Linked DNA regions of Homo sapiens: regions 2, 3 and 4 are each linked to region 1. Evidence: promoter capture Hi-C in 16 types of primary human blood cells and fetal thymus (Javierre and others, 2016). All regions are on one chromosome and are shown on one strand. The core of a region is centred on a gene start or on the middle of the fragment in contact, and the rest is flanking DNA. Distances in the headings are between cores, read along the strand shown.

Evidence for each region. Contacts are between HindIII fragments. The CHiCAGO score rates a contact against its expected background, and 5 or more counts as called.
Region 2: a fragment that was not itself captured here is called in contact with the fragment with the promoter of U2AF1 in region 1 in 1 of 17 cell types (M2 macrophages); the score reaches 5.1 in M2 macrophages.
Region 3: a fragment that was not itself captured here is called in contact with the fragment with the promoter of U2AF1 in region 1 in 1 of 17 cell types (M1 macrophages); the score reaches 5.5 in M1 macrophages.
Region 4: a contact is called between a fragment that was not itself captured here and the fragment with the promoter of U2AF1 in region 1, in 1 of 17 cell types (M1 macrophages). The highest score is 5.3, in M1 macrophages.

What each region holds. Positions count from the first base shown.
Region 1 is chr21:43,103,059-43,109,305 of GRCh38, reverse strand. U2AF1 (U2 small nuclear RNA auxiliary factor 1) reads left to right here and starts at 1,736. Exons shown (of 8, transcript NM_006758.3): 1 at 1,736-1,855; 2 at 4,904-4,991. The coding sequence starts at 1,812. It overlaps LOC101928369 (a long non-coding RNA gene), which reads right to left and starts at 1,616. Exons shown (of 5, transcript XR_937770.3): 1 at 1,211-1,616. The HindIII fragment of the contact is 2,538 bases long and covers 1,199-3,736 here.
Region 2 is chr21:43,627,244-43,632,828 of GRCh38, reverse strand. HSF2BP (heat shock transcription factor 2 binding protein) reads left to right here. Exons shown (of 9, transcript NM_007031.2): 6 at 2,375-2,507. Among named protein-coding and RNA genes, the nearest start is that of MIR6070, 20 kb to the right of the region's middle. The HindIII fragment of the contact is 1,245 bases long and covers 1,139-2,383 here.
Region 3 is chr21:43,683,635-43,689,833 of GRCh38, reverse strand. It overlaps RRP1B (ribosomal RNA processing 1B), which reads right to left. Exons shown (of 16, transcript NM_015056.3): 10 at 5,184-5,281; 11 at 4,045-4,064; 12 at 2,899-3,030; 13 at 1,594-2,318. Among named protein-coding and RNA genes, the nearest start is that of RRP1B, 27 kb to the right of the region's middle. RefSeq lists a silencer at 1,589-1,718. The HindIII fragment of the contact is 1,629 bases long and covers 3,397-5,025 here.
Region 4 is chr21:43,705,336-43,711,579 of GRCh38, reverse strand. It overlaps LOC124905031 (a long non-coding RNA gene), which reads left to right. Exons shown (of 2, transcript XR_007067895.1): 1 at 1-225; 2 at 542-864. Among named protein-coding and RNA genes, the nearest start is that of PDXK, 11 kb to the left of the region's middle. RefSeq lists enhancers at 1-439, 3,819-4,352. The HindIII fragment of the contact is 3,350 bases long and covers 341-3,690 here.

The DNA of each region.
Region 1 (6,247 bases), core at 487-2,986:
CTCTGTCAAAAGGAAAAGAATGAGCTGAAAGCTGAGTCATGTAAGCAGCTGCCTTTCCTTTCGTTCCTAAGCAGACGGCTACAGATAGAAGGTTCAACATCCGCTTCTCTTATGTAAAGTGCTGATTTGCTGAGGAGTGAGCTGTACACAGTCGACTGTTCCCAACCTGCTTCTTTTCTCTTGCAACGTGTGGATTACCACACTGTTCCGCTTTCCCCTCCAGCCCACTTTTCCCCTTTAAATACTGAAGCCCTCAAAGTCATCTTTGGAGAAAGGCACAGACCACAGACTGTTTCTGTGATACCGTGTTTTTTTTCCTCCCAGGCATTGTCCTTAACCTTGGCAAAATAAACTTCTAAATTGATTGAGCCCTGTCTCAAGATACTTTTTGGTTTAAACCTCTGAGGCCCTACTGTTTCTAATACAGGTTTCCAGTTTGCTCATCTTTCCCAGGTAGGAAGATGCTCTGTTGCCAAGAGAAATGCAATTCTAACACGCAAATCCGCCCAAACACTAGAGCTCAGCATTCAGCTCTAGCCGAGCTAAGAGGATCCCATGGTCCTGCCCCACAGTCTGGGGCTCATCTTGTGGAGGAGGTAAGTAAAATAGGCCCTGTCTCTCTGACTTCTACCTAATCAGAGTTGATAGTTGCGTTGGAAATTAGGTAAATCGCAGGTGAGTTGATGAATGTGGGAAACCAGATGAAAATGGCTGCTTGATGGGGTTAAAACGCAGGAGAGGAATAGAACCCTTCCAACGGAATGGTTCCAGCCTTGTGACATGAGGAGACTGAAAGGGTATCCCAGAGGCAGGTCACTGGCCTTCCAGCTCCACCTGTGGGTGGCCTTGGCCAGGCAACTGCAAGAGTGCAGGGCCCCGGGGAGGTCGCACCTGGCAAGCGCTGAGGGAGGGTAAAGCGGAGAGGGGTGTGAGAAGAGAAAAACAACACAGAGCGTCCGAGCTATGTGAGGCGTGCGAGGTTAATCCGGCCCGGAGAGACAGGTCTATGCGGCTTCAGCGGTCCCCACCCATGCCTGGCAATTGTTTAAAGGCACTATTGCTCCGGACCCGCTGCCTTCACCCATGAACTTCCTTTCCTGGAATTATGATATAAAGAACAACGTACAGCCAATTAATAGCTTGTTATTTTCATGTAAATTCTTGGTGAGCTATTTAAGAACTGCCCCCCTCTTAAGCTTTATAAACCCACTTGTCACTGTTGCAAATCCTATGTTCAGGGCAACTTGAAGCTATGCTCCCGGGTTGCAATCTTCAAACTTGGCCCAAATAACCTCTCTACTTATATCAAGTTTGCCTCAGCTTTTTTTTTCTTCTAGGTCGACGGTTCCCGCCCCGCAAGGGTGCAGGGAAGGGGACGCCCGCACTTCCTAGTGCTCCCTTAGCTGGGGTCGAGCTGAGCGCCCCCCACCGAGCCCCAGGCGGCTCTGTGGAGAAGCCCCTCGGCCCCGGGTTCGGTCTGCACTGCCAGCCCCCAGTCCCCGGCGCGCAGGATCCAGCAGGGCCAGCGCCGGGCGGGCGAGAAGGCGAGAGAGCTAGGGCCGGGCGGGGAGGGCACCGGCAGGGGGCGCGGGTTCCCAGGACCGAAAAGGCGGAGCCTCCCACGCGCACTACGTGCTCCCTACGCGCATGCGTCCCGCCCACGCGCAGGCAGCACCTCGCCTGACTGGGTAGCGCTGCCACGTCGGGGCGGGGAAGAGCGTCGTCGCGTCCGGGTGACGTCTCCCGAGGGCGTCGGCAGGGTCGGCGGCGTCGGCAGCAGTGTCGACGGCAGCGGCGGCGGCGGGTGGGAAATGGCGGAGTATCTGGCCTCCATCTTCGGCACCGAGAAAGACAAGTGAGTGGGAGCCCCCCGCCGGGGGTTGGGCGCGATCGGGGCGCAGGGTGGTTGAGGCGGTGGGAGGGCGACCGGGGAGGCCCAGGCGGGCCGGCGCGGCGGTGGCGGGGGAGGGGCGCGCGGCGGGAAGGAGCGGTGGCCCTTCCGGCCCCTTGCGCGCCCTCCGGAGCCGCCGCCTCGTGGGCCGCGCGGCGGAAAACTGGAGCGGGCAGAATGAATGGGGTCTCTTTTCGGGGCGCCGCGGCCGAGCTTTCTCCGGCCTTGGGGTCCGGACTGGCTGATCGCCCGACGTCCGGGCCTCCGAGTCGCCGACTCCCGGAAGCCGCCTCGAGCCGCGCTGAAAGTTGCCTGGAGCATCCGGGCCTTTTGGACGTGGACACGTTTGTTCCAACTTTCGGCTGTGAATGTCCTGTCGAGCAAGCTCTGGTACCAGCCTCGCCAGTATTCAGTCGCTTATCTAACTTAGGGTCCTAAGCGTTGGTGTTTTATCCACTTAGCCAGCCTCTTGCCTGTTTAAGCGACCGCTGGGCCGGCAGTAAGGAGATATGACGAGAAAAAGTATGGTGGAGACTACTGGATTAACTATCTAACCACAAGAGACGTGATCCGCTCTTAACATACAGGTGCTCCTGGATTTACCATGGGATTGCGTTCCGATAAACCCATCATGAATCGAAAATGCCTTTAATACCCCGATAAACCCATCATCTAAGTTGAAAATTTGTAAGTCGGTGACTGTTCTTGAAGACACAATTCTGATATAAGGAAAAAGATGTTTTGATTTTTTCCTTAAGGTTGCATGCCTTCCCTAATCAATCGTTAGGTTAAAAGCAAAACATTTAATTTCAGCTTTAATTGCCACCTTGGCACGTACTAATTTCCAGTGAGTTGGCTGTAGTTTAGACTAAATGGAATGTTTTCAGACGTTTGAAGGATAATTCTTACTTTGAAAACCTAAAGACTCAGCATCTGGCTTAATCTACTCTTTAGTTATCTTGGCATTCTTCAGTGCCATACAAAGTTAACATGACTTTATGTTTTCAATGATAAACCCCTAAGTTTGTCATAGATGTTTTTAATGCCACTTTTTTCAAACGCTATTTAAAATGTTTCTCTTTTCCAGGATGGAGTCTATCTTGTAAAATGTCCTCTTCACACATGGTAGAATCTCCTGTGTTGTTTGGATGAGGAGGCTATATTTCTAGCAAAATTTTAAGCCAAAATCTACCAGTTATAGTCACTCCAGAAACATTTAGTGGGGGTCAACTATAGGTCAGTTTCTGGAGACTTAAACATGGGTAAAATTTGGATATTATCCTTAAGGAACTCACGGTATGATCTTGGCGAATGAATAGACCAGCTCTATCGGAACAAGAGACTCTTCTGAGTTTAGGGTGAAGAACTAACACATGTAGGATCGGGGCATCATTAATTTCTCCTTTTCATATTTGCATGTGGCATGACTTCTGTCTTGTAAAAGTCTATCTCCCTATATTTCTGCTATAAGCAACCACATTTCAATCTATTGGGCTATACTATAAAGGTCATGGTTTTAATTCAGAAAAGTTGATTATTTAATCTAGGTTACTTGTGTTTTCTTTTCAGGGAGACGTGGGGTTTTAGCTTCCAGGGAACAGGATCAACTCCTGAAAAATGAAGCTGATGGTTCATATTAACTTTAATTATTATTTAAGCTAAGAATAAAATATAGATCTCTACCAATTAAAAAATGTTTAGCTTATTATATGTTTGAAGTTATAGATGTTTTCTAGATTCAGGGATATCCTAATAGCTTGTCTGTAGTTTAATTGTGTGGAATAATTGGATATTAATTGTTGAGGCCCAGGGCTTGCCCATTCTGAGGTAGTTTTTAAATAAGCTTTCTTTATTTTTAGATGACTTCCTAAAGATATGCTATTGTCTAATCAAGTTAAATAATCTCAAGACCTGTAAGTTTGCAAATATATATAATCACTTTCCTCTCCTGATAAATTTGGACTTTCCCATCTTTATTGCTACCTGATAATAAATCAGTGGCTAGTCAGTCTTCATGGTCCATTAGATTTCACTGAGGTTGAGGCCCTTCAATCTTAACTCTGGATTGACTGTTTAAAACATAATGGCACTTGGTTAAAAAAAAATTGAATTTTGAACAAAGTCTGTCTGGTAAGATGTCCTAATTCATCAGAGATCGGCTTCCCTCCCTGACATTGCTGGCACACAGGCATGATTGCTGGTTCCATTGGATATGGATCTGGATTGTCAGCGTATTTGAACAGTATTAAGGGAGGGTTTTGCAGTAGAGACAGAAGGTGACGTAAGGTGGTTCCTAAGGTGGGTTCGGTCAGTCCCCTAATAGTTTGTTTTCAGTGTATTGAGACCAGGAGAATTGATTTACTTCAGACCTATTTTTTGAAACTCCCTGTTGGTCTGGTGTCATGCGTTTAGAGAGACTCTGAACTTCGTTTTCTGTTTTCCTTAGATAATGATAGCACTTCATGAGCACCATATGTGAAGCACACATACGTTCTGTCTGACTCTCAGAACAGTGCCACATTGGCATTGTCATCATTTACAGATGACATCTGAGAGCTAGGGTGACTTGCCCAAGCCCAAGCAGCTGGTAGCAGAGTTGGGATCTTAACCCTCACCACACCGGTGTTTTCAAGAGAGAACTTGGTCGTGGAGAACTGGAGAACAGATACTGCCTAAGTTACATTTAGTTTTAGACTAATTTAATACTCCATTTAAGAAACAAACAGAACAGCTGTGCAGTTAGGAAAGTGGAGGGGATTTGAATGAGGAGGAGGCGGGTTAGAGTTAGAACCGTCTTTGCTGAACAAGTAGTGTGTTTGCAGAAAGGGAAGTTGAAGTTACGTTGTCCTAAAATACAGCAAGGAAGAGGAGGTGCTTAATACCACGGAAAAAAGTCTGTGTCATGTTTCTGTGAGGTTAAAAGTAATTTGATAGTGTATGTCATGCTGCTGACATATTCCATGTGTTTGATATCTTCCCAGCAAAATAATCAGCTCTCATTTTCCCTTACAGAGTCAACTGTTCATTTTATTTCAAAATTGGAGCATGTCGTCATGGAGACAGGTGCTCTCGGTTGCACAATAAACCGACGTTTAGCCAGGTTTGTTTGCCTTTTTTTCATGTAAATTATAAAAACTTCATGTTCTTTTCAAAGACAGTTAATTTCTACATATTAAGCAAGTCATTTTTTCTCTCGTAGTTGTATTTTCCATTTGTGTTCATAAGTGTGTTCTTTTATTTAAATAATAGTGAGGCAGGTGATCGACTTCCAGTGGAAGGTCTGAGACCACCACTCCTTGTTTTTATCATTAGAGAAACTTTAAAAATCAGTTTTTGATGTTTGTGTGTTGGCTGTGCCTGATATTTGCTGCCCTGCCATCTTCCCTACCCCCTCTGATAGACATGGGTCCAGAGGGGGTGGCCGTGCCAGCCTTGGGTTAGCCTCCTCCAGGCACCAGTGGACACGGAGTGGGCTTTCTGCTCTTTGCTGTCTCCAGACAGTAGAGGTGATGGAGCCACCTTCCAAGTTAGCGTGATTGTCACCAGGCCCATCATGCTGCTCGAGCTTCTCTGGCTGCGTCCTCACTTTCACATCCCTAGCTGAGGAAACAGCGAGTCGCATCACGTCATGGAAACATGAAAAATTAAGCTGAAAGGTAGAAAATGGGCCGTAAATTGCTCTTAGCGGGTCTGTTTGGTTAATTGAGGAGTGCCTGTTATCTTGGGCTTAGATCCGCTCTGAGTTCAGTTCAATCAAAAGTTGTGAGTTTTGATAGTTTTATTTTTGGTTAGTTGAAGAAAAGGCAAAGGTTGGTACACTATAAAGGATCACTTACGGATTAAAGGGAGAAGGCACCTCTAATCGGAGCAGAAAACTTGTGCCCACGTTGATGAGAACATTTGAAATTTGAAAATCGATGCCCAAGTCTTTCCAGATGGAGGGCTGGGGAACTCCTTCCAACCCACCCTTGAAGTCTAAATGTGCAGCCTCTGAGCTGTTGAGTAGCTATTATGCGTGGTCCCTGGGAGCTGCCAGGCTCTGCCTTTGAGCTCACATCTGTCTGTATACGTTTTCCTGTAAGCATTTAAGAAAATCTACCACTTTGTGTAAGTGAGCTGGGAGAAGGAAACATGGGTTTTTTCCGGTTGAAGCCCATGGACGACCCCACAGCACACAGTGTTTTTAGAAGGGAAGAGGATGATGGCTTTTCCCTCCATTATGCTAATTACCAAGTGGTTAGTATAATAGCAGTCTGTCTTTTGATAGCTCTGAACATGAGTTTCTTTTTACAAATTTCAAAATCTTGGAGAACTAGCTTTACATTTTCTGTGTATTGCAATTGTTTTTTCTTTAAT
Region 2 (5,585 bases), core at 512-3,011, 520 kb before region 1:
CCCCTGCACAGTCGAAAAGCCACATAGAACTTTTGACTCTCTCTACTGTTGGCTGGAAGCCTTACTGACAACATAAATCGTTGATTAACACATTTTTTGTATGTTAGATCATCATGAAGGTCTTCCCCCTCATCATCTTCAAATTGAGTAGGCTGAAGAGGAGGAGGAAGAGGAGTGGTTGGGTTGGCATTGCTGTCTAAAGGGTGGTAGAGGTGGAGGAGGTGGAAGGGGAGGCTGGAGCAGCAGACACACTTGGTGTAACTTTTACTGAAGAAAATTCTTGTGTAAGTGGACCTGTGCAGTTCAAACCCTTGTTTTCAAGGTTCAACTGTGTGTGTGTGTGGCAGCGTGTGTGTGTGAGCATGTGTGTTTGAGCATGTGCATGTGTGTGTGACTGTGTGTGTGTGTGGGAGCATGTGTGTGTGGGGGAGTGTGTGTGTGTGGGGGGGGAGCGTGTGTGTGTGGGAGCGTGTGTGTATGGGAGCATGTGTGTGTGGGGGAGTGTGTGTGTGGGAGCGTGTGTGTGTATGTGGGAGCCTGTGTGTGTGTGTGGGGGGAGCGTGTGTGTGGGGGAGTGTGTGTGTGTGTGTGTGAGCCTGTGTATGTGGGATCGTATGTGTGTTTGTGTGGGGGAGCATGTGTGTGTGTGGGGGAGCGTGTGTGTGTGAGACTGTGTGAGTGTGTGTGTGGGAGCGTGTGTGTGTTTGGGGGAGCGTGTGTGTGGGGAGAGCGTGTGTGTGTGTGGGAGCGTGTGTATGTGGGAGCGTGTGTGGGGGGGGAGCGTGTGTGTGTGTGGGAGCATGTGTGTGTATGTGGGAGCCTGTGTGTGTGGGAGTGTGTGTGTGGGGAGCGTGTGTGGGGGGGGAGTGTGTGTGCCTGTGAGCCTGTGTATGTGGGATCGTGTGTGTGGGAGCGTGTGGGTGTGTGGGAGCATGTGTGTGTGTGGGAGCGTGCACACGCACATGTATGCATGCGTGCAGGCATTTGTCAGGGAACTTCACAGAAGGGGATAAATTTGAAATGGGCCTTGATGAATAGGTAGAAATGGCAGAAAATGGGTGGGTTTGTTTTAGGACAGTGAGTAGGTCAGTTGACACAGTGGAGAGTTAATGTCATAGAGTAGTGGGGAGGTAAAGCTTAAACGTAGGTTGGGATGTGACTTTGGGACCTTGAATACCAGGTTGGTGATTCATTCTGTAGGTGGGAAGACTGGATTTTCCCTAAGGGTTTTTCAATAAAAGTGATAGGATAAGAGCAGAATTTTAGAAAGATTCACCTGACAGTGGGTGAGGATGGATTAGGAGGTGGAGTTGTGGCACATCGCGTCTACACAGGATGACTGATGAGGTGGTCATTCTAGCTGGTCTGGCTGGAGTGAGCTCGGCCCTCTGCAGGGGAGATGGGAAAGAAGGAACATGTATGAGAGCTGTGGCAGTTGAGGCAGATGCGATGGCCGGGCAGAGTGGGCACCTGGAGGGGACAAGAGGAGCCAAAAAAGATCGGTGTTTGACTCTGGGAGCATGGCGTGATCATGACTGGAAATGAAGGTGAAGAGGGGGACGTGTGGCAGGAAACCAGTGAGAAATTAGTTACTGCTAATAGAAATAACAGTTGTGTTTGACTTTAGGTGGAAAGACTAAATGTGTTTTTAAAAGTTTGTTGAGCTTTATTAGGTTTAATTTACATACTGTAAGATTGTAAATGTACAATTTAGTGGTTTTTAGCAAATTTTTAGAGTTGCATTAACCATCACCACAACCCAGTTTTAGATTATTTGATCATCCATGAAGTTTTCTTATATCATTTGTAAATGCAAATATTTCCAATTTTTTAACTGGGTTAAAATGTACATTGGTTTTAAAATTCTTCTTCAGAACTCTAGCACCCCAAAGGAAGTAACTCAAAGGTTCAAACTTGGAAATGCTTTTTGCCAAGTGATGAAGATTTAAACTACCAGAGGAGCCAGTCTTTACCTCTTTTACATGTTTTCATTAAGATTTTTTTTTTTGAAAAAAGTTATGCTAAAGGTTTGAACACCTCTGGTTTAATGCCCAGAGCAAATAGGCAGCATGTTTTTCTAGTATATTTTTATTACATTTTGAGTGAATTCTTCCCATTTACTTTCATCATCATGTACATTTGTCCTATATCATATTTATGCGTGTGAAGAGTCCACCAATCTTCAGGGTAGTTTTTGTTGCTCCTGCATGCCTCAAGCTGCTTTCTCTGTTCTTTTAATGGGAACTTTTAATGAGGGAATAGATTTTACAATATTCTACAATTAAAACTAGAATCTTCTGTATCCTGCACTTTTAAAATGTTTTCACACTAGTGTCTGTAAAAAGATATGACACTCTGATTTTCAAACTTTCAGGATAAAGCTTTGAAGTTTTTCAGCATCACTGGTCAAACAATGGAGAGTTTTGTGAAGTCGTTAGACGGTGATGTCCAGGAGCTGGATTCGGATGAAAGTCAGTTTGTTTTCGCTCTGGCTGGAATTGTCACGAGTAAGTGCAGGCGCACCTGAGAGATGTTGCCTGTTTGCTTCCAGACCACTGCAGTAAAGCAAATACTGCAATAATACATGAGTCACATGAATGTTTTTGGTTTCCCAGTGCATATACAAATTATGTTTACACTATACTGTAGTCTGTTGTATGTACAATAGCATTATGTCTAAAAAATGTACAAACTTTAATTAGAAAATTCATTATTGCTAAAAATGCTAATGATCATCTGAGCCTTCAGCAAGTTACAATTTTTTGCTGGTAGAGGGTCTTGCCGTGATATTGATGACTGCTAACTGATCAGGGTGGTAGTTACTGAAGGTTGGGGTGGCTGTGCCAATTTCTTAAAATAAGGAACAATGAAGTTTGCCACATTGATTAATTCTTCCTTTCATGTAAGATTTCTCAGTAGCATGTGATGCTGTTTGATAGCATTTTTTCCACAGTAGAACATCTTTCAAAATTGGAGTCAGCCCTCTCAAACCTTACTGCTGCTTTGTCAACTAAGTTTATGTAATATTCTGAATCTCTTGTTCTTATTTCAACAATGTCTTAGCATCTTCACCAAGAGTAGATTCCATCTCAAGAAACCACTTTCTTTGTTCTTCCATAAGAAGCAACTTATCCTTTTTTTCTGCCACCACGTCTGTAGTTACTTACTCCACTGAAGTCATGAACCCTTCAAAGTCATCCATGAGGATTGAAATCAACTTCTTCCGAACTCCTGTTAATGTTGTTATTTTGACCTCCTCCCATGAATCATGAATATTCTCTTGTTGCCCAGGCTGGAGTGCAACGGCGTGATCTCGGCTCACTGCAGCCTCCACATCCTGTATTTAAGTGATTCTCCTGCCTCAGCCTCCCAAGTAGCTGGGATTACAGGCATGCGCCACCATGCCCAGCTAATTTTGTATTTTTAGTAGAGATGGGGTTTCTCCATGTTGGCCAGGCTGGTCTTGAACTCCTGACCTCAGGTGATCTGCCCACCTCAGCCTCCCAAAGTGCTGGGATTATAGGCATGAGCCACTGCGCTTGGCTGAATCATGAATATTCTTAATGGCATCTAGAATGGTGAATCCTTTTTAGAAGGTTTTCAGTTTACTTCACCCAGATCCATCAGAGGAATCACTGTCTATGGCAGCTGTAGCGTTATGAAATGTAGTTCTTAAAAAAAATAGGACTTGAAAGTTGAAATTTCTTTTTGATATATGAGCTGAAGAATAGGTATTGTATTAGCAGGCATGGAGTCAACATTACTTTCCTTGTACCTCTCCATCATGGCTCTTGATTGACCAGGTGCATTGTCAATGAACAGTAGTGTTTTGAAAGAAATCTTTTTTTCTGAGCAGTAGGTCTCAACAGTGGGCTGAAAATATTCAGTAAACCATGCTGGAAACAGGTGTGCTGTCATCCAGGCTTTGTTTTTCTATTTCTAGAGCATAGGCAAGAGTAGATTTAGCATAATTCTTAAGGGCTCTAGGATTTTCAGAATGGTTAAATGAGCATTGGCTTCAATTAAAGTCACCCGCACCATTGGCCCCTAACAAGAGAGTCAGCCTGTCTTTTGATGCTTTGAAGCCAGGCATTGACTTTTCTCTAGCGGTGAAAGTCCTAGATGGCGTCTTCTTCCAATAGAAAGCGACTTTGTCTACATTGAAAATCTCTTGTTTAGTGTAACCACCCTCGGCAGTGATCTTAGCTAGATCTTCTGGATAACTTGCTGCAGCTTCTCCATCAGCACTTGCTGCTGCACGTTGTTTTTATGTTATGGAGACAACTTCTTTCCTTAAACCTCATGAAGCAACCTGTACTAGCTTCCAGCTTTTCTTCTGCAGCTTCCTTACCCCTGTCAGCCTTCACAGAATTGAAGAGCATTGGGGCTTTTCTCTGAATTAGGCTTTGGCTTAAGGGATTTTTGATGATTTTTGATCTTCTGTCTAGAATACTTGGGCTTTCTCCATATCAGCAATAAGGCTGTTTTGCGTTCTTATCATTCATGTGTTCACTGGAATAGAGCTTTTAATTTCTATCGAGAACTTTGCATTTGCAGTCATAACTTGGCTGTTTGGCACAAGAGGTCTAACTTTCAGCAGGTCTCAGCTTTGGCCATGCCTTCACTAAGCTTAATCATTTCTAGCTTTTGCTTTCAGATATGTATCTTTTCCTTTTGCTTGAACATTTAGAGGTCATTGTAGGGTTATTAACTGTCCGAATTTCAGTATTGTTGTGTCTCAGGGAATAGCAAGTTCCTAGGAGAGGGAGAGAAACGGGAATGGCCAGTCATTGGAAAAATCAGAAGATAAGTAGCATGTATTGATTAAATTTGCTGTCTTACATGGGTGTGGCTCATGGTGCCCTAAAACAATTACAGTGGTAACATCAAAGATCATTGATCACAGATGACCATAACAGATGTAATAATAATGAAAAAGTTTCAACTATTGCAAGAATTACCAAAATGTGACACAGAGACATGAATTAAGCACACACTGTTGGAAAAATGGCACCAACAGACTTGCTCAATGTAGGGTTGCCACATTCCTTCAATTTGTAAAAAAACAGTATCTGCAAAGCACAATAAAGTGAATGCAATAAAACGAAATGTGCCTGTAATTCTTTTCAGCTGTAGTGACTGTTACAGAGACTGGTGTTTACAGTCAGGGTTGAGAGTGTGTAAACATCTCTCAGGAGTGTTTTCAGATATTAATGCTGGGGAGCACCCTGGATAATCTGATTCCATAGTTCTGGGATAGGTACCGGGTATGTTTATTTTGGAAAATCACCCCAGGTGATTCTGATAAGTATCAGTTATTAAGAATGAATGATCTGAAGGAAACAGATGAGTTTGCATGTTCTGTGTAGTTATGTACCTTGACAGAAAAAAACAAGTAAGTTTAGCTGCTTTTATTCAGAATCATAATTTTACTGTCTGGCTAGCTAAAGTAAAAGCCTTAAGCTAAGCTTAAGCTGAGCTCTTTGCTGTTGTTTTAGTATAATAATTATATAATTCCAAAAACCTAAATTGCCTCTTCAGTAAAATTCTCCTAAAAGATAATAAAGTAAACCTTTCCCTGAGAG
Region 3 (6,199 bases), core at 2,962-5,461, 580 kb before region 1:
GACCGGGTCTCGTACTTGGCTCTCAGAGGTGTGGGCAGCCCAGTGCCGCTGCCGACACACGGGTGGCTCCGGCAGGTTCAAGTGTGCCGCCTGGAGGGCAGGGAAGCCCGAGGAGCTTCTCCTGTGCGCCTTCCCTGTGCCATGACAGATGGCAGGGGAAAGCTTCCCTTGACCCTGGGACTTATTGAGCAACACCCCATCCTCTTTACAATAGGCTGCCAGGGGCCTGAGACGACAGCAAGAAAGGCAATGTCTCTGGCCCTCTTAGTGAGGGAGCAGCGCTGAGGGTACGAGGGGCAGGCTGCAGTCCAGGGAGGAGATGGCGGCACTGTGAGGTAGGAGAGACTCGAGGCTAGAAATGGGCCTCCTGCCGTCCAGCTCAGTGCACTGCTGCCCCTGGGTAAGGCTTTCCTGACCATAAACTCACTCACTAGCCACTTGCAGACACTCTTAGCCCCAAACCAGCGCTTCACCAGGTCCACACATGTCCACTTAAACAAGAGATGTCATAATCTCCGCAAAGCGGTGTGTGCAAACCAAGAGGTGACCAAGGTGCGCAAACTCTGTGAAGGGCAGAGTTATTTTCTGCTTTACAGACCGCAGGTCTCTGTCTCTACCACTCCCCTCTGCCGCTGCAGCATGAAAGTGGCCACAGACCTGCACATACAAGTGGATGTGGCTCTGTTGCAGTGACACTACGTTTGCCGGCCCTGGCCTGGAAGCCCAGGGCGCCCAGAGGTGGTGTGAAAAGCGGATCAGGGCCAGGCGCGGGGGCTCTCGCCTGTAATCCCGCACTTTGGGAGGCCGAGGCAGGTGGACTGCTTGAGCCCAGCCTGGGCAACAAGGCAAAACTCTGTCTCTACAAAAATAACAAAAATTAGCTGGGCATGGTGATGTGTATCTGTAATTCCAGCTACTTGGGAGGCAGAGGCAGAAGAATCGCTTGAACCTGGGAGGTGGAGGTTGCAGTGAGCCGAGATTGTGCCACCGCACTCCAGCCTGGGTGACACAGCCAGACCCAAGACCAGATCAACAGCTTGGTTCCTCATTTATATCTGGCTCTAGAAATCAAAGTGGAAGGAAAGTCTTTCCATTAAGAAGATAAGTGGTCCTGCTAGTGAAGTTTCTTGAGCTGGGGGGTAGGGGGGAAGCTAAGAAAAGAAAAGAATATAGAAAAGAAGGTGAGTGAAGCAAGAGAATTTTGGGCTTCCTCTTTTGCCAAAGGGGCCTGGACTGGCCATGCGCTGATGAAGAAAACCAGACCTGCCTTTGACAGAGGCCTAGACTGGCCTGAACACGCCTGGGGCAGGAGTGCCTGGCCCAAGGGATAACTTTCCCAGCTTGGAGTGGGCCCTCCCGAACCCAAGCATGTGGCCTAAGGGAGTGAAGGTGGCCGATGAGGAGGACCGAAGTACTGGTCACCTGTGATTTCCTCCTTAGTGAAGGCTGTTATGAACACACCCTATTCTAACTGCTGCTGAGTCCAGAGGCCTGGCCGCCAGCCCCCACCCTTCCTCTCAGGAGGCAGTGGAGCCCCATGGACGCGAGTGAGTGCCTCTGTGGCGAGCTGGCCTGTGGGTGCTCCCACCTTACCAGAGCCTGGGGTTGCCCAGCTTCGGACTCCAGCACCCCGTTGTGCTCCACCAAGTTTGACATCACTCTCATTTTCTTCCTCTTTTTCAAACTTGCTGTTTTCTGGCTGGGCAGGCCACAGAGCTCCAGGCTGCCGGGCCCTGCCTTCTTTTTCTGCAGCCTCCTGCGCTGGGGCAGCGTGGTGTGGCTGTTCGCCCCCTCTGCGGGGCCTGTGGGAGGGCCTTCCTGCTGCAATGGAGGCCAGGCCGGCGTGGACAGGCCACTGCCATTGACGGGCACAACTCCAAGTTTCCGCTTCCTTTTTAGGAGTTGGGCTCCACCTGTCGGGGACCCTCTAGGTCCCTGAGGATGACTGCCACTCGGGCCACTCTGAGACATGTCCTCTGGGGGCAACACTGCTGATTCCAACATTTCCCTGTGGGCCCTCGGGCTCTTCTTCCGTGGCCGTTTCCTTTTATTGTGCATGGGGACGGCTGGAGGATGCTCGGAGCCACTCTCCTCCCCAGTGCTGGACGTGGCCTCTGCACCTGGCTCGGCCACACGTGCCTTCAGGGCTTTCAGCCCAGAGGCCTCGGGCTCCCTGCCCCGGTTCTGTTCCAGGGATGGGGCTGCACCCCCTGGGCCTGGATTTTCAGGCTGCAGGTGGTGCTTCTTCTTCTTCTTCCTTCTTCTCTTTTGAAGACTGCTTTCACTGTCCTCTTCCTCTACACAAAAGACTCTGCTTCCTAAAAAGACAGAAACCCATCAACAAGCACCCAGTGCCAGCTGGGCCAGAGTCCTGCTGGCGATTCTCAGACAGTATGACTGGCGGACGCAATTTCCTGACATTCTACCACGAGGAAAGTTCCTGTCTCCCTTGAGGTACTTGGTGCGCCCACTACCTTTGTCGTCTGGTCCCACTTCCTCCATCCCCAACTGTGACTGGAAGCCTTCCTTCTGTCCGTTTATAAACACATATGGAACTGAAATAGTCCCATTTCCACTAATTTTAGGGCTCAAGGGTAAAAACCATAGATCTCGAGTGGTCATCAAACAGCCGCCCCCCAGTGCTCCCTGCAGCTCCTGCTTCCCTGCAGAGGTGCCCTGGAGAGCAGGCGGACGTGAGCGGGGTGAGGTGGGGACGCGGCTCCACCAAAAACAGCACAACACTTGGAAAACCGCCTTTACCTCTCAGCCATTAAAGACTGAAGCTTTGGGCTCTGCTAATGCTTTATGACGGCACGAGCTCAAGTCTCCGAGGCCTCCATGGTGCATGCCGCTCCCCAAGGGCTGAGTCGTGCCCTTCTTTTTAGCTTTACAGCTTACCTTTCTCCTTTTCCAAGTTAGTTTTCTCTAAAAGTTTATTTCCTTTCTTCTTATGCTTTCCTTGACTGAGGATTTGGTCATCTTCATCAGCAGAAATGTCCTCCGCAAAACTGAGTTGAGATATACTGCTTCCTAGATGCCAGAGTGACACACTGTTAGCTTCCCCAGGCGCTCAAGACTCTGCCCCAGGGGCCTAAGAGCAGCACCCCTCCCAATTTCTGCCTCATCATCATCGTTCCTCACCGTTTCTCCCACCCAAACCTGAGCGCTGCTGACACAGGAATTACAGACTTAAAAAAGCTTTGTGGATTTCTCAACCAAGGCAAGGCAAGGGATCACAAGCCCTCGGTGACACCCTCCATGGCTGGACCCCGGACGCTTGGCTAATGCAGTCTCTGCATTCCAACCAGCTTGCTGGTGCCTTTCCCAATTCCAAGTGTCCCTAGTGAATGACGGGTATGGGGTAACTTCACTGACTTGTCCAAATGTAACAAAGCTTACAGCATCAGCCTTTCCCGGGGGGACCATTGACCATAAGAGCAAATGAAAGGGATCCTGAGAAATTACATTTTTTACCTTCATAGAGTATCCAATTAAAACCTTCCTAGGCCATTGAAAATCCATCTAGTTAAAATAATAAAAACCAAACCAAAACATCGCAGTACCCACACATGAGAGCAGTCTGCCCTCTTGCTTTGGTGGTTAGGGAGAGCCCAGGATAGGAAGGTGGGCAGGCTGCAGGGAGCCCTAGGCTTGCATCACTTCCCACGCTGTACTGCGGTATGACTAGGTAAGGGCTGGTCTGTCTTTCTTAAAAGTTGGGGTCTTGTTGTGTCACCCAGGCTGGAGTGCAGTGGTGTGATTACAACTTACTGCATCCTGGACCTCCTGGGCTCAAGCGATCCTCCCCTCTTAGACTCCCAAGTGACTGGGACTACAGGATCACGCCACCACGCCTGGCTAATTTTTTCATTTTTAGTAGAGATGTGGCCTTGCTATTTTGCCTGGGCTAGGGACTATTATTTCTTATCAGAGGTTTTCAGTAAAGTTCTTTCAATCTTGTTTCTCAGCGTTTGGCATCAACGCCCCCAGTGGGGTCCATATTCACGAAAAACACCATGAATGATGATTCTTGGCGCGCCTCACCTTCAGAAAGGTCTTGGAATCTAAAAATAAAAAAATAAAAAATAAAAAATAAAAAAATAACAAATGTTCATAAAGAAATCCCTTCTGTCTTCTGTAGACATATGTATTTGATTTTTAAAATACAAGCCATAGTTAAATAGTTGTTAATTCACGTTCTCCTCCAGGAGGGGAGGCTAGACAGGAAATTCTGTGAGGGAAGGGTGGTGCAATACAAAAGCCAAAAAGCTCAAGGCCAGTGCCGCCCTCGGTTACCATCAATACCAGCAAGGACACGGCGGGCCAAAGATGCATCTTGGCACACCCAAATCAAACTAAGAAATTCAATTTTTGTTTCTGAAGGCAGAAATAGCTTAGATCTCTCTCATATTCAATTCTCCAGTGGAGAAAGGCGAAGCCATGTTTTGCTTCACACAATTTTTGTGCATTAGAACAAACAAGACGCATCGAAGCGCAGTGTGGGGAGGTGCATGGGGGAGGAGACACTGGATGGCAGGGACCTCAGGCAAGCTAGGACCATCCTGTGCCCTAAGAACCAGCTGGGAAATGGGCAAAACTACAGGAGCTACTTTCTGGGGGCTTAACATGGAATACTTGAATGTATACAAAGTGCTCAGAGCAGTGCCCGGCTCCTAGAGTGTGATCAGACAGTTGTTGTCACCAATGACAGCAAGCCACACGAGGCCCTCCATGAATTCCAGGTCATCATGTCACTATGGTCAGAGTGACATCAACACTGACAGCTGAATTAACTAACACTTTTGGCATAGCCATATGGGAGGGAGGGGAGAGGTAAAGAATTAACCCTATCTATCTCAGCAGCACACCAGCAGAAGACACCTAAATAGCAGATTCACATCAGTTTCTGGTTGGTTCATTTTAGACATGAATAGACTTCACATCATTCTAAAGCAGCTAAGAGATGAGTATGGCTGCACTGGAAGAATGGAACCTGAGGGGTGGGACTGCTGTTTCCATTAAGCTTTTCAGTTTACATGTGTCTATTACATTGCTATACACAAAAGCATTAAAGGACAAAAAAAGAAGAAAGAAAAAAGATAAGCATGCAGATGGCTTGTCCCACACCAGGAGATGAGAACTAAAGGAATGATGATGTCAGAACCCTCTCCCCAGTTACTGACTTCTTGATGAGTTTGGAGAGGCGCTTCCTGTTGAAGTGGGGCGTGTTCTTCCTGCTGGTCATTTCCAGGAGTCGATCAGCAACAGCCTTATAGTCAAACTAGGCAGGAAGAGAAACTAAACATAAGTCTGCAGCCAAACAACACTGCCTGACTTGGCCATTTACATCTGCTAGTAAGAGAAACCCTTACTGAAGCATTTGGCAACAGATAGGCTAAACAAGCTTGTGCTGGGACTTGGCAACCAGGAGCACAAGCACTACCTTTGAAAAATGCATGTTCAGGCCGGGCGCGGTGGCTCATGCCTGTAATCCCAGCACTTTGGGAGGCTGAGGCGGGTGGATCACAAGGTCAGGACATCGAGACCATCCTGGCTAACACGGCAAAACCCCGTCTCTACTAAAAATACAAAATATTAGCCGGGCGTGATGGCGGGCGCCTGTAGTCCCAGCTACTCGGGAGGCTGAGGCAGGAGAATGGCGTGAACTCAGGAGGCAGAGCTTGCAGTGAGCCGAGATCGAGCCACCGCACTCCAGCCTGGGAGACAGAGTGCGACTCTGTCTCAAAAAAAAAAAAAATTATTCTTGGGAAAAGCTGGGTAAGCAATTCTTAAAAAAAAAAAATTGTGATAGAGTACCCACAACAAAATTTACCTGGGTGTGCTTTTTTTTTTTTTTTTTTGAGCCAGAGTCTGTCACCCAGGCTGGAGTGCAGTGGCATGATCTCAGTTCACTGCAACCTCCACCTCCCGGGTTCAAATGATTTTCCTGCCTCAGCCTCCCGAGTAGCTGGGATTACAGGCGTGCGCCACGGTGTCGGGCTAATTTTTGTATTTTTAGTAGAGACGGGTTTCACTGTGTTGGCCAGGCTGGTCTCGAACTCTTGACCTCAGGTGATCTGCCCGCCTGGGCCTCCCAAAGTGCTGGGATTACAGGCGTGAGCTTGTAATTAAATTTTAAATTTAATCTAGATTTGCAATCTGTACTTGGCAAACTTTTTTTTATTTGAAAAGTGCCACT
Region 4 (6,244 bases), core at 766-3,265, 600 kb before region 1:
GCCTGGCTAATTTTTTTGTATTTTCAGTAGAGATGGGGTTTCACCGTGTTAGCCAGGATGATCTCGATCTCCTGACCTCGTGATCCGCCCGCCTCGGCCTCCCAAAGTGCTGGGATTACAGGCGTGAGCATGAATTTCTTCTTTACATGTAGCTTCCAGTACCCAGATCACATGATTTTTGATGGAAGTCCAGTGTGATCCGTATTCTTGTTCCTCTATAGGAAGGTACTTTCCCTCCGACATCTTTCAAGATATTCTGTCTCTGGTTTCCTGCAGTTTGAATACGACATGCCAAAGTTCCTATTTTTTGGCATTTGTTGTACTTAGTGTTCTCTAAGCTTCCTAGATCTGTGGTTTGGTGTCTGACACCAATTTTGAAAAATGAGAAGCCATTATTACTTCAAATATTTCTTCTATCCCTTTCTCCCTCTCCTCTTCTGGTATTGCCATTATGAGTGTGTAAATTACCTTCTATAATTGTCCCGTAGTTCTAGGATATTCTGTTCAGTTATTTTTACTCTTTTTTCTCCTTGCATTTCAGTTGGGGAAGTCTATGGACATGTCCTCAGCTTGCAGATTCTCTCCTGGGCTGTGTCCAGTCCACTGACGTCCGAGGCACAATCCCCCGTGTGACCCTGCCTGGCGGCGGCCTCTTGTTAGAGCTGTAAGTCACACAGGCTTCTGCCTGTCCTCTAGCTGAGTGTCACTGTATTGCGTCCCACCACCAAAAGAATCTTTAGATCTTATAAAACATCAATACACAGGCTTCTGCCTCTCCTCTAGCTGAGTGTCACTGTATTGCGTCCCACCACCAAAGGAATCTTTAAATCGTACAAAACATCAATAAAGGATTTGAGTCCTAAATATACAAGGATTTCTTTCTTTCTTTCCTCTCTTTCTTTCTCTCTCTCTTTCTTTCCTTCTCTCTTTTCTTTCTTTCCCTTCCTTCCTTTGTTTTCTCTCCTCTGTTTCTCCCTTTCTCTCTTTCTCTTTCGTCTTGCTGTTGCCCAGGCTGGAGTGCAGTGGCGTGATCTTGGCCCACTGACACCTCCACTTCCCAGGTTCAAGTGATTCTCCTGCCTCGGCCTCCCGAGTAGCTGGGATTACAGGCGCCTGCCACCACACCCGGCTAATTTTTGTATTTTTAGTAGAGATGGGGTTTTATCATGTTGGCCAGGCTGGTCTCGAACTCCTGACCTCAAGTAATCCGCCCGCCTCAGCCTCCCAAAGTGCTGGGATTACAGGCATGAGCCACTGCGCCCAGCCTTTTTTCCTTTTTTTTTTTTTAAATAGGGTCTTGCTCTACCACCCAGGCTGGAGTGCAGTACAGTAGCACACATCAGCTCACTGCAACCTCTGTCCCCTGGGCTAAAGTGATCCTCCCGCCTTAGCCTCCTGAGTAGCGGGTACTACAGGCGTGTGTCACCATGCCGGGCTAATTTTTGTACTCTTTTTTTATTTTGTAGAGAAGAGGTCTCACCATGTCGCCCAAGCTGGTCTCAAACTCCTGAGCTCAAGTGATCTGCCTGCCTCGGCCTCCCAAAGTGCTCAGATTACGGGTGTGAGCCACCACAACTGGCGAAAGAATTCTTAAAACTCAACAATAAGGGAACAACCTAACCAAAAAATAGGCAAAAGATCTAGACACCTCACCAAAGAAGATATACAAATGGCAAATACACATATGGAAAGTTCTGAACGCCATGCCATGAGAAAAGTACAAATTCAAACAATGAAACATCGCTAAGCACTGCTTACAATGGCTGAAGTCCAGAACACTGACAACACTGGGTGCTGGCGGGACATGGCACTCTCCTTCATTGCTGGTGGGAACACTGTAATGGTGTAGCCACTTTGGAAGGCACTTTGGTGGTTTCTTAGAAAGTAAACATCTTGGCCGGGCGTGGTGGCTCACGCCTGTAATCCCAGCACTTTGAGAGGCCGAGGTGGGGGCGGATCACCTGAGGTCAGGAGTTTGAGACCAGCCTGGCCAACATGGTAAAACCCCATCTCTACTAAAAATACAAAAATTAGCCTGGCATGGTGGCAGGCACCTGTAATCCCAGCTACTCGGGAGGCTGAGGCTGGAGAATCGCTTGGACCCAGGAGGCAGAGGTTGCAATGAGCAGAGATCATGCCACTGCACGAGTGAAATTCCGTCTCATTAAAAAAAAAAGAAAGAAAGAAAAAAGAAACTAAACATCTTACCTTATAATTCAGCAGTTGCACTCCTTGATCTTTACCCAAAGGGTTAAAAACTTATGTCTACACAAAACCCTGCACACCAATGTTTATAGCAGCTTTAGTAATTGTCAAAAACTGGAAGCCACCAAGGTGTCTCTCAGTAGGTGAATGAATAGACAAACTGTAGTGTACATTTGCAATGGAATATTATACAGCAATGAAAAAGAGTGAGCCATCAAGCCATGAAGCGATAGTGAGGAAACGTTAGGTGCACATTACCAAGTGAAAGACACTGATCTGAAGAGTCTGCCTACTGTGTGACTCCAACCAAGTGACATCCTGGAAAAGGTAAAACTATGGAGATAATTAAAAGGTCAGGAGGCTGGGCGTGGTGGCTCATGCCTGTCATCCCAGCAGGCGCGGTGGCTCATGCCATTATCCCAGCAGGCACGGTGGCTCATGCCGCCATCCCAGCAGGCGCGGTGGCTCATGCCGTCATCCCAGCAGGCGCGGTGGCTCATGCCTGTCATCCCAGCACTTTGGGAGGCCGAGGCAGGTGGATGTTTGAGCCCAGGAGTTCAAGACCAGGTTGGACAATATAGTGGGGCCCCATCTCAAACAAAACAAAACAAAACAAAAAAAACCCAAAAATTAACCATGTGTGGTGGCACACCCCTGTAGCGTAGACCTAGCTATTTGAGAAAGGCTAAGGCAGGAGGATTGCTTGAGTCCAGGAGGCAGAGGTTTCAGTGAGCCAAGATCATGCCTCTGCACTCCAGTCTAGGAGTCAGAGCAGACCCTCTCTCCAAAAAAAGAAAATGGTCAGGTGTTGTCAGAAGGTTAGGACAAGGGGGAAAGGAAAGGATAGGAGAAGCACAGTGGGCTTTAGGGCCAGAAAACGACTTTGTGTGACACTGTGATGGTCAAGGGGGAAAGAAATGGATATGAGAAGCACAGCGGGCTTTAGGGCCGGAAAAGGACACTGTGATGGTCTGCACATGAGATTAGCATTTGACAGACCCAGAGAAGGGCCCATCATGAGTGACCCCTGATGTGAACCAAGTGAACTCTCCTGTAAATAATCACATAACAGCAGGACGGCACCACACAGCTGGAATCGGCTATAGGGTGTGCACCAACTCACCTGCTGAAAAAAGAAAAATAAACAGCAAAATAAAGTAGAGATATTCATATGCTAATACGTTTAATTTTATTTTACTTTTTTGAGACAGGGTCTGCTCTGTCACCTGGGCTGGAGTGCAGTGGTGCCATCAGGGCTCACTGCAGCCTCAACTTCCTGGGCTCAAGTGATCCTCCTGCTTTGGCCTCCCAAGATGCTAGTATTACAGGCATGCTCCACCATGCCCAGCTAATTCTGTAATTTTCTTTGTAGAGACAGTGTATTAGACTGTTCTCATATTGCTATAAAGAAATACCTGAGACTGGGTTATTTATAAAGAAAAGAGCTTTAATTGGCTCACGGTTCTGCAGGCTGCACAGGAAGCTTGGCTCTGGCATCAGCTTCTGGGGAGGCCTTGGGAGCTCGCACTCATGGTGGGAGGCGAGCAGGGAGCAGGCGCCGCAACAGGGCAAAAGCAGGAGCAAGAGAGTGAGGGGTGGGGGTGCCACACACTTCTACACACCCAGTTCTCCTGTGAACTCAGAGCAGGGAGCTCAGTTGTCGCCAAGGGGATGGCCCCAGCCATTCTTGAGGGAGTCGCCCCCATGACCTCCACCTCCCATCAGGTCCCACCTCCAGCACCAGGGATCACATTCCAACATGAGATTTGGGCAGGGACCAATATCCAAGCTATATCAGACAGGGCTCACTCTGCTGCCCAGCCTGTCTTGAACTCCTGGCATCTCGGCCTCCCAAAGTGCAGACAGTACAGGTGTGACCCACCGCGCCCAGCCTGTGACTGCATTTTACTCCAGTATATGACTATTCTGTGGCTGTCTTCAGCCAGCTGTGTTCTCAGTTAATGGACATTTAGGTAGAGTCACCACTTTTTCACTATGGTGGAATCTCTTCTAACTTGCACGAATTCAACTGAAGGTGTGCAAACCCCCCCACCCAAGAAAAAGGGAGCACAACAACCCGTTTAAGACTGTAAAGTCGGCCAGGCACGGTGGCTCACGCCTGTAATTCCAGCACTTTGGGAGGCCGAGGCGGGCGGATCACGAGGTCAGGAGTTCGAGACCATCCTGGCTAACACGGTGAAACCCCGTCTCTACTAAAAAAAAAAAATACAAAAAATTAGCATGGTGTGCTAATTTAACAAAAAGTTAGGCGTGGTTGTGGGCGCCTGTAGTCCCAGCTACTTGGGAGGCTGAGGCAGGAGAATGTGTGAACCCGGGAGGTGGAGCTTGCAGTGAGCCTAGATTGCGCCACTGCACTCCAGCCTGGGTGAGAGAGTGAGACTCCGTCTAAAAAAAAAAAAAAAAGACTATAAAGCCGGTCAGGCACGGGGCTTATGTCTGTAATCCCAGCACTTTGCGAGGCCAAGGCGGGAGGATTGCTTGAGCCCAGGAGTTCGAGACCAGCCTGGGCAACATAGGGAGACCCCGTTCTCTGCAAAAAAGTTAAAACAAACAAAACCAAACTGTAAAGCCAGTGAGTCTGGCTGCTCCTGGCCTCTGTGGGTATATGGGGCTCGTGAGGCATGTCGGGAGCAAGGCTGTGGTTTGCCATACGACTCATTTTCTATGTTTGCTTTTATATGATAGAAATCATACTGTTTTTCAATTAAGCTTTATTTTTTATCTAATGATGCAAACAGTTCTTTTTTTTTTTTTTTTTTTTGAGTCAGAGTCTTGCTCTGTTGCCCAAGCTGGAGTGCAGTAGCGCCATCTCGGTTCACTGCAACCTCTGCCTCCTGGGTTCAAGAGATTCTTCTGACTCAGCATCCTGAGCAGCTTGGGATTACAGGCGTACGTCACCACACTGGGCTAATTTTTGTATTTTTAGTAGAGATGGGGTTTCGCCACGTTGGCCAGGCTGGTCTCGAACTCCTGACCTTAGGTGATCCACCTGCTTCAGCCTTCCAAAGTGCTGGGATTACAGGCATGAGCCACTGCACCTGGCCTCAAATTCGTTTTTATGTTTGTTTTTTCTTTCTTTCTTTTTTTTTTTTTTGATACAGGGTCTCACTCTGTTGCCCAGGCTGGAGTGCAGTGCCACGATCTCGGCTCACTGCAACCTCCGCCTCCCAGGTTCAGGCGATTCTCCTGCCTCAGCCTCCCGAGTAGCCGGAATTACAAGCATGTGCCACCATGCCTGGCTAATTTTTGTATTTTTAGTAGAGACAAGGTTTCACCATGTCTGCCAGGCTGGTCTCGAACTCCTGACCTCAGATGATCCACCCGTCTTGGCCTCCCAAAGTGCTGGGATTACAGGCGTGAGCCACCACGCCTGGCCCTATGTTAGTGTTTTCCTTATAGAAATCTTATTTTTTTCAATTAAACTTTATTTTCTATCTAATGATGCAAACAATTTTTTAAAGCAAAATAATAAGATCTTTAATGGAAAACAGCATTCCCTTCAGCAGGCTCTCCATCTGCATGTCTCATTCTTGATACAGGGACCACCTTTAACTCGTAGAGCTATTTATTCTGACTATTTATGTATTTGTTTTCTTTTTCTTTCTTTCTTTTTTTTTTTTTTTTTTGAGACAGAATCTTGCTGTGTTGCCCAGGCTGGAGGGCAGTTGAGTGATCTTGGCTCACTGCAACCTCCGCCTCCTGGGCTCAAGCAATTCTCCTGCCTCAGCCTCCCAAGTAGCTGGGATTACAGGCATCGGCCACCCTTCTGGGCTAATTTTTGTAGTTTTAGTAGATATGGGGTTTTGCCACGTTGGCCAGGCTGGTCTCAAACTCCTGACCTTAGGTGATCCGCCCGCCTCGGCCTCCCAAAGTTCTGGGATTACAGGCATGAGCCACCACACCCAGTCTATTTTTTTCTTTTCCAACTTTTATTTTTAATTCAGGGATGCAGGTGCAGGTCTGTTTCCTGGGTATACTGCGTGATGCTGAGGTTTGGGGTGCGAATGATCCTGCACCC